Linked DNA regions of Homo sapiens: all the other regions are linked to region 2. Evidence: promoter capture Hi-C in human tissues and cell types (Jung and others, 2019). All regions are on one chromosome and are shown on one strand. The core of a region is centred on a gene start or on the middle of the fragment in contact, and the rest is flanking DNA. Distances in the headings are between cores, read along the strand shown. Region 1 overlaps RIC8A (RIC8 guanine nucleotide exchange factor A). Region 2 holds the start of POLR2L (RNA polymerase II, I and III subunit L). Region 3 holds the start of IFITM5 (interferon induced transmembrane protein 5).

Region 1 (2,700 bases), core at 79-2,578, 630 kb after region 2:
GTCCCCAGCCCTCTTCATGTTCCGAAGTGTAGTCTTGAGGCCCTGGTGCCGCACTTCTAGCATGTTGGTCTCCTTTAGTGGGGCTATTTTTAATGAGAGAAAATCTGTTCTTTCCAGCATGAAATACATTTAGTCTCCTCAAAGGGACTGCAGGTGTTGACATGAGTTGGAAAGGGAACCCTGGGATACGTGGCGTCCCCTCTATTGGAACAGTCTGAGGACTGAAGGCATTTGTCCCTGGATTTATTGGAGACGGCCCAGCTCCTCCCTCTGAAGGTGGTCACATTCTGTTGACTCTCCATACTCAGCCTCTCCTCCAGAAACAGATCTGTTCCAGAACATTCCAGCACTTTCTATCTGGCCTCCTTGTCCCCACACTACGCCCCCCCACCCTCGCCAGGGCTTCCTCTAGTGACACTGTTAGAGCTAATCTCTGAGACAGGGAAGGCATTACTCACTTAAAACCCAGGCTGAGTCCTGGCCACCTGCTGGATTGTGACATAGGAGGTGGAATCCACTGAACTGCTACTTCTGCACAGGCTCCTTCTCCTGGGGCTGTACCCAGGCCCAGCCCTGATGGCTCACCCTGTCAGGCACCAGCTGCTCCCTCCTGGGCTCTCACCCACCTGCACATCCTCCTTCCTAGCATCACATTACCTGCGTGTTTCCCCAGACAAAAGCACTTCCCATTCTTGAACCTTGCCTACCCTGGGCTGAGCTGACGGCAATAGATTTAATGACAGTGACTCCCAGGAAGGGGGTCCTGTGACTTTGCGCCTTAATAAGAACAAAAGGTGGAATTGGTGACCTAGGAAAACTGTTGAATTCTAAAAAGAATGAAGTTAGTTTCTAACCCTAGTTAATGTTCCTTTTTTATTTTTTGAGTCTTGCCCTGTCACTCAGGGTGGAGTGCGGTGTTATGATCTCAGCTCACTGCAACTTCCGCCTCCCGGGTTTAAGCGATTCTCCTGGGTAGCTGGGATTACAGGTGTGTCCCACCACACCTAGCACATGGGCATATTTGTAATAGAGACAAGGTTTTGCTATGTTGGCCAGGCTGGTCTCGAACTCCTGGCTTCAAGTGATCCACCCACCTCGGCCTCCCAAAGTGCTGGGATTACAGGCATGAGCCACTGTGCCTGGCCCCTTTATTTGATAATTTACACATACATTTTTGTCCAAAACTCTTCTTTATTTCAAGATGATGTTTCTGTGGCTATGTGTGGTATGTGGTATAAATCTCAATCTATGGTCACACGAGGGGCATTTTCCTTGTTGTAAGTGTAGTCTAAACCAGTAGGAAGGAGGTTTAATTGCCAAAACCAGCGAGAACTCGGGCACTGTGGATACTACAGTGGGCAGCTGAACGAGGACCAAGGAGAATGTCTAAGAGGCCTCCAGCCCTGCGCTCAGTGAAGACAGGACAGGAACAACAGAGCATACATACCTTGGAAGGGTGTGTTCTGATATACTCGTATGGAAAGTTCTGACAGGTTTTCTCCCTGGGAAGTGCAGCACATACCCCAACACACTGGCTCTGCCAGTGTGCCAATCCCAGATGGTGCTTGCTTTGTGTGCACCCACACCCAAACCCCTGCCCTCCCATATGCTCTTCTGTGTGCCCAGGTAGGCCCTGCCCTCAGGCAGCAGCTTCTGAACACATTCCTCTTGGCGCAGACAAAAGAAAGTACTTCGTCTGTGGAATTCGAGGCTGAGCCTGAGTTCTAGCACAAGAAGACCGTTGCAGTCCAGAGATGAGAAACTGGACCAGAGGCAAATCATGAACAGAACGGGAGTCAAGAGAAGGGGTTTCTAAGATGGAGAAGTGGGGGCGGGTGTGGATCCAGTGGGATGTGGCTTCCCCAGGTTGCAACCCCAAGGAAGTCTCTGGAAGCAGCACCAGTCCTGATGGGGGAGCAGAAGAGCTGCCATCCTCAGTCAGGGTCCGAGTCAGGGTCCGAGGAGAGCTGCTGCTCCATAGTCTCGCACATGGCATCCTGCAGGGACGTAAGATGACCCCGGGGACTCATCCCCATTGGCTGGATGACTCTGTTCCTGTTGGGGAAAGGTGCAGTGGGGCTGGGGAAGGGGCCCAGTTGGCCAGGCAGGGGTCCTACTCACCCGTGGCTGCTACCTTCCTCTCTACCAAGTAGGCTGCTCCCATTTACTGGGGAAGCCTGGTTGGACCTTCTGTTAACTGGGCCCAAACCCTAACTGCTGCCTCCTGGCTTTAAGCAGTTTCCTATTTTAAACATCTAAATTGGCCTTAAGCAGGCTCTTAATTTGGACACTGGGCCATCTCCAATAAATCTGGCGACATTAGTCTCTTTTTTTTTTTTGAGACGAAGTCTCACTCTGTTGCCAGGCTGGAGTGCGGTGGCACAATGTCAGCTCACTGCAAGCTCTGCCTCCTGGGTTCAAGTGATTCCCCTGCCTCAACCTCCCGAGCAGCTGGGACTACAGGCGCCCACCACCACGCCCAGCTAACTTTTTTTTTGTATTTTAGCAGAGATGGGGTTTCACCATGTTGGCCAGGATGGTCTCGATCTCCTGACCTTGTGATCTACCTGCCTCAGTCTCCCAAAGTGCTGGGATTATAGGCGTGAGCTACCACGCCCGGCCTTAGACAGTCTCTTAATTTCTCTGGGCCTCAGTTATCATCTGTAAAAGGGGCACAATACTGATCTCAATATACCCATC
Region 2 (2,744 bases), core at 15-2,514:
GGCAAACCAGCCCAGAGCCCCCCATGGGTGCCGCTTTGCGGCCCACCCACCCCCACAGCCCACCTCGCACCTCCAAGGAGCCTTCTTTGCCTCTCACTGCACACCGACCCCCCATTTCCTCACCCCCACCCCAGGGGCACAGCAAGAAGGGTGCTGGTGCCAGCCCCCCCGCACTCCATCCGAGAGACACGGGCTCCTCGTCCCTCGTCGTCCGTAGGCCCTGAGCTCCAGGGCAAGCCAGAGCTGAGGCCTTCAGGGGGTCCTGCCAGTGCAGCCTCCGGGAGTCTGCCCAGGGATCCCCTGTGCCGGGGTCTTCCAGGTTCAGCTCAAAAAGCACCTCTTCCACGACTCCCTCCCCGACCTCCCTCCCGGGTCCCCTCTCCCCGTGCTCAGAGGCGCGTCTGAGCGTCGGGAGCTCGGGACGGCGAGCAGCCAGCAGAGCCGGGACCCGGGAGGGCGCACCCCGACCCCATTCCCGGGAAAGAGCGGAAAGAACGCGGACAGGAGCCCGGGGCGGGGAGCTGCCGGCGGGGGCTGTAATTGCGCAGCTGAGGCCAGGGCGGCGCCCCTAGGGGCTGGGCCGCGTCCAGAATGGGACCCCCGAACTCAGCGCCGAGAGCCCCGGACACCCCGCGGGCAGAGGCCGAGGCGGAGGAACCCACTACTCGGCGCGGCCAGGAGGGGCGGCAGGAAGACCCGCCCCGGCCCCCGCCCGCCCTCTCCCCGAGCCCCCGCGCCGGACCCCACTTGTTGCTGCGTGTCGGCTCTGGGCTCGAACTCGCGCGCCCCGCTCGCGTCCGGCTCCAGCCGCTCCCGGTCGGACACCTCCGGCCACGGGACCCTGGCCGCACGCCCCCACAACCCCCAGGCGCAGTACCTGCGCCGCCGCCTCCCGCTCGCGCCGCCCGCTCCCGCCGCGCAGCTGTCAGTCAAGCGGACACGAGAAACGCGAACCGCCGCCGCAGCTTTACGGCCCTGCTCAGACGCCGTAGCGCCGGGATGCACCAAGACGGTGGGCGGGGGTGTGCGGTCTGCTGCTGCCGCGGCCGCGCGGGCCCGGGAGCCCCGGGACGCACAGGCCCAGGAGCCCCGGGACGCACGGGAAGCCCCTATCGCGGCGGAAACTGCGGCCAGCGGTGGCGGGGCCGGTGGAGGGACGGCCGGAACAGCGGAGAACGAGCGGAGCCGATTCTCCCGCAACAGTGGACGCGCCCGGGGCGGGGCCTGGGGGGGTTCTTCGCGTGCGGCCGGGCCGGGCCGGGCAGTCTGGGACGCGCCGCCGCCATGATCATCCCTGTACGCTGCTTCACTTGTGGCAAGATCGTCGGCAACAAGTGGGAGGCTTACCTGGGGCTGCTGCAGGCCGAGTACACCGAGGGGTGAGGCGCGGGCCGGGGCTAGGGGCTGAGTCCGCCGTGGGGCGCGGGCCGGGGCTGGGGGCTGAGTCCGCCCTGGGGTGCGCGCCGGGGCGGGAGGCGCAGCGCTGCCTGAGGCCAGCGCCCCATGAGCAGCTTCAGGCCCGGCTTCTCCAGCCCCGCTCTGTGATCTGCTTTCGGGAGAACCTTATCCCCTGAAGTCTGGGGAAGAGAACGGAGTTGGGCTTCAAACCAGTGGTGTCCTGGGGATTCTAGGTGGCCTGGCGGGTCGCAGGCGTCTTGTCACCCGCAGTAAAGCCCTTGGCCTCCGCCCTATTCCCATCTCTGCCCCCAGGCCCACCCCATGTCCTGCAAACCTCGCTGCAGGACGGGCGGGCGCGGCGGCTGACATCTGTAATCCCAGCAGTTTGGGAGGCCGAGGCGAGAGGCTTGCTTGAGCCCAGGAGGTCGAGACCAGCCTGGACAACCTGGGGAGACCCTGATCTCCAGAAATTTATTTTATTTTATTTTTCTTTTTTGAGACGGAGTCTCGCTCCGTCGCCCAGGTTGGAGTGCAGTGGCGCGATCTCGGCTCACTGCAACCCCCGCCTCCTGGGCTCCAGCAATTCTCCTGTCTCAGCCTCCCGAGTAGCTGGGACTACAGGCGTGTGCCACCACGCCCGGCTAATTTTTGTATTTTCAGTAGAGATGGGATTTCGCCATGTTGGCCAGGCTGGTCTGGAACTCCTGACCTCAGGTGATCCACCCGCCTCGACCTCCCAAAGTGCTGAGGTTACAGGCGTGAGCCACCGCGCCTGGCTCTATCTTTTTAATTCGCCGGACATGGCGGTGCACACCTGTGGTCCCAGCTACTTGGGAGGCTGAGACGAGAAAATCGCTTGAGTCTGGGAGGCAGGTGGAGGTTGCAGTGAGCCAAGATCACGCCACTGCACTCCAGCCTGGAAGAGAGAGTGAAACTCCGTCTCACGCACACACACACACAGAAAAAGAAATGCAGGGTAGACTTGCTGACCACCCTCATCAGGCTTTGTAGGGGAGGCGTCTTTCTCCTGTGCTTGTCCCTTGGTGCTGCTGTCACCACGGTGCCTGAGTCTTGGTGCCCCCGCTGGAGTCTGACCCTCGCCCACTGAGTCTTCGTCACATGTGAAGCCCTGGGCTTGTGTGCGCCAGCCTGCCATCGGCACTTGGTGCAGCTTGCTGGACAAACGAGGAAAGCGAGTGGGCTGCTAGACTGAGTGGCTGGCGGCCTGTCCAGACCCTTTCCCCGGATAGGAACGGCAGGGGCCTCCCATGTGGCCTCCCCTTTCCCAAGCTTCTGTGTCTCTGCACATTGGAGCCATCGGTGTGGGAGTTTTCTGGAGGTCTTGA
Region 3 (2,837 bases), core at 226-2,725, 540 kb after region 2:
GGTGAATGCATATATCTGGTTGCCTCCTTTGGAGAAGCAAGTCAGAAACTCAAAAGAATGCAACCTTTGTCTCTTATCTACCTGCGACCGGGAAGCGCCTCCCCACTTCGAGTCTTCCCTGCCTTGCTTTGCATTGTCCTGCCTTTCCAGACTGAACCAATGTTCATCTTACATATGTTGACTGATGTCTCCTGTGTCCCTAGAATGTATAAAACCAAACTGTGCTCCGACCACCTTGGGTACAGATCCTCAGGAGCTCCAGAGGCTGTCACAGGCACATCCTCAATCTTGGCAAAATAATCTAAATTAACCGAGACCTGTCTCAGATATTTGGGGTTCACAGGCTCAAGCACAGCAGCAAGGAACCCCCCACCCAACCATCCCCTGCAGGTGGCGAGTGTGCGTCCTGGAGGAGGGAGGGCAGCTTGGTCCTGGGCACTCAGGAGTGTGGCCGACTGGGAGACGGGGAAGCTGAGCCTTCTGGCCCGGTGCAGTTGCCACCACTGCTCCGGGGAAGGCTTGGCAGAGGAGGTTGGGAGGGAGGATCCAGGGTCTATTGTTGGCACGTGGGTGGAGGTCCACAGAGCAGGAGTTGCGTGTGTGTGTCCAGAGCTGGGGACCAAGCCAATGTCTTTGGGGGGAAGTCTGGGCTGAAGACATAAATGTGAGTCGTCAGCACACACAGGCATCTACAGCCAGAGACAAGACTGGGGCGGACCTTGAGCCCTAAACAGGACCACTCACCACAGACATTCTGGGATCAGGGAGGGCAGCCGAGGAGGCTGAGGGGAGTGTCCACCACAGGAGCCCACAGGCTCCCTGCATCCCGACACCAGTGTTAACAGCTGTTGCTGGTCCCTGGGGGTTCCCCTGCCGGCTCCTAACAGGCTGCACCCCCTGGCTTTCCCCCCATGTGGTTCTCTCCTTCTCTCTCGCGCCCTCCTCCGACAGCCGCCCTCCCTGTCCCCCTTGCAGGGATGCCTGCGCTCCTAGGGCCTGGCGCTGGTGCTCTGAGAGTGTTAGGGGCAGAGTTGAGTTCTGGGAATGAAGGGGCTGCAGTTTCAGCAGCTCTGGTTCTGAGGAGGGGGCTCCTGTACATCCCTGAATTATGAGGCCCATGGCCCTGAGGCGACACCTCCAACTCTTCTTGGCCTGGACGGAGGGGGCTCTGGCCAGTGGTCTGCCCACTGCCCACTTGGCCAGCAGCCTTTGATGGGGGTGGGGGGATGGGTGGGGGTCTCTGCCACTGCCCGGCCGTAGCCTTCCAAGCGGGGGGCTCCCAGATGGGATGTCTGTCAGGAGGGACCCTGCTGGGTGGTCCAAGGCAGCCTCGGACAGGGGCTCCCTGGGGTGGGGGCTAAGGGGCGGGCCGCACCCTCGGCCCGCAGGCTGTAATTTGTGTTATATATAGCGTTGAGGGGCTGGGCCGGGAGGGCGACAGGGCTATAAGTGAGCGGGTGCCCACCCTCCCAGCACCAGTCTGAGTGTGGAAGAGACGGCGCTGGAACCCATGGACACGGCGTATCCCCGCGAGGACACCCGGGCCCCCACGCCCAGCAAGGCCGGTGCCCACACAGCCCTCACACTGGGGGCCCCGCACCCCCCGCCTCGAGACCACTTGATCTGGTCGGTGTTCAGCACCCTCTACCTGAATCTGTGTTGCCTCGGCTTCCTGGCGCTGGCCTACTCCATCAAGGTGGGCAGGGGCCCTACCGAGGTTGCGGGGGAGGCTCCACTACTCCATCAAGGTGGGGGGAAGGGGGAGGGATGGGGAGCTCCGTGGGGGGTCCTTGCCGTGCTGGGGGCCGCGGGGGGCTCTGCTTGTCCGTGAGGGGCTCTGTGGGCACAGCTATCAGTATGGCCGGGAAAGAGCTCCTCACGAAGGCAAGGCCGGGGGGCCTCTTCTTAACGGGGTCTGGCCCATCCAAGAGCACAGAGGCCATTGGGAGGCACCCACAGAGGTCTCTGCAATCAAGAGGGGGTTCACATGCTGTGGGCTTCTGGAACAGAGGTCCCTTTGACTTCAGCTCCTGGCTGGCAGGGTGGGGGGTGTCTCAGCACCCTGGGGGACCCTCACCCATAGAGAGCTCTGATAGGCTGACACTGGCCTGGGATGGCCCCCGGGTCCATAGCTGGGGCCCCAAGGAGTATCTCCTCAGGCCACACCCCTCCATCCAGATTTTGGGTGCAGTAGGGGCCTTCCAGGTGCCCAGGGTGTGGGTGGGGAAGGGCCCCCAGGCCCCGAGGACACATAGAGATCTGGCCCTGTGGTCTGGTCTCTCTGCAGGCCCGAGATCAGAAGGTGGTTGGTGACCTGGAAGCGGCCCGGCGTTTTGGCTCCAAAGCCAAGTGCTACAACATCCTGGCCGCGATGTGGACGCTGGTGCCGCCACTGCTGCTCCTGGGGCTGGTGGTGACTGGTGCCCTGCACCTGGCCCGGCTGGCCAAGGACTCTGCCGCCTTCTTCAGCACCAAGTTTGATGACGCGGACTATGACTGACAGGCTGGGTCCTGATCTGGGGCACTAGCCCCAGGACACTGACCCCAGGCTGCTGCCCCTGGGGCCCAATACTGACTCCCCGGAGCCTGGCCCTCCTTCTGTGGGGCCTCCATCCCTGCCCCATCCTGATCCTGGGGCCCTCCAGCCCCAACATGGGCACCTAAGGCTGAACCAGTCAGACCCCGGGGTCTTCACCCTAACCCGAGAGTTCCCGGGCCCTAACTCTGCCCCCGATCCTGCCCCTCCCTCCTCACACTCCAGGCCCCTCGGTTCCACGATTAAAAGTGCCTGGTTCCAGAAAGTGCCTCCTGGCCTCTTTCCTGCCTAGCGTGGGGGA

Evidence for each region. Contacts are between HindIII fragments. The study calls those that stand out against the background at their distance.
Region 1: a contact is called between a fragment that was not itself captured here and the fragment with the promoter of POLR2L in region 2, in 1 of the 25 tissues and cell types used here (lymphoblastoid cells).
Region 3: the fragment with the promoter of IFITM5 here is called in contact with the fragment with the promoter of POLR2L in region 2 in 1 of the 25 tissues and cell types used here (heart left ventricle).

The regions. Positions count from the first base shown.
Region 1 is chr11:213,585-216,284 of GRCh38, reverse strand. It overlaps RIC8A (RIC8 guanine nucleotide exchange factor A), which reads right to left. Exons shown (of 10, transcript NM_001286134.2): 10 at 1,172-2,055. The coding sequence ends at 1,935. It overlaps SIRT3 (sirtuin 3), which reads left to right. Exons shown (of 7, transcript NM_012239.6): 7 at 1-1,255. Among named protein-coding and RNA genes, the nearest start is that of MIR6743, 5.6 kb to the right of the region's middle. The HindIII fragment of the contact is 6,100 bases long and covers 1-2,700 here.
Region 2 is chr11:841,049-843,792 of GRCh38, reverse strand. POLR2L (RNA polymerase II, I and III subunit L) reads left to right here and starts at 1,264. Exons shown (of 2, transcript NM_021128.5): 1 at 1,264-1,379. The coding sequence starts at 1,285. It overlaps TSPAN4 (tetraspanin 4), which reads right to left and starts at 941. Exons shown (of 9, transcript NM_003271.5): 1 at 878-941. RefSeq lists silencers at 269-437, 423-652, 673-762, 873-1,502 and enhancers at 771-1,514, 1,515-2,260, 2,261-2,744. The HindIII fragment of the contact is 28,886 bases long and covers 1-2,744 here.
Region 3 is chr11:298,164-301,000 of GRCh38, reverse strand. It overlaps IFITM5 (interferon induced transmembrane protein 5), which reads left to right and starts at 1,475. Exons shown (of 2, transcript NM_001025295.3): 1 at 1,475-1,696; 2 at 2,288-2,801. The coding sequence starts at 1,511. The coding sequence ends at 2,500. RefSeq lists an enhancer at 2,145-2,304. The HindIII fragment of the contact is 20,921 bases long and covers 1-2,837 here.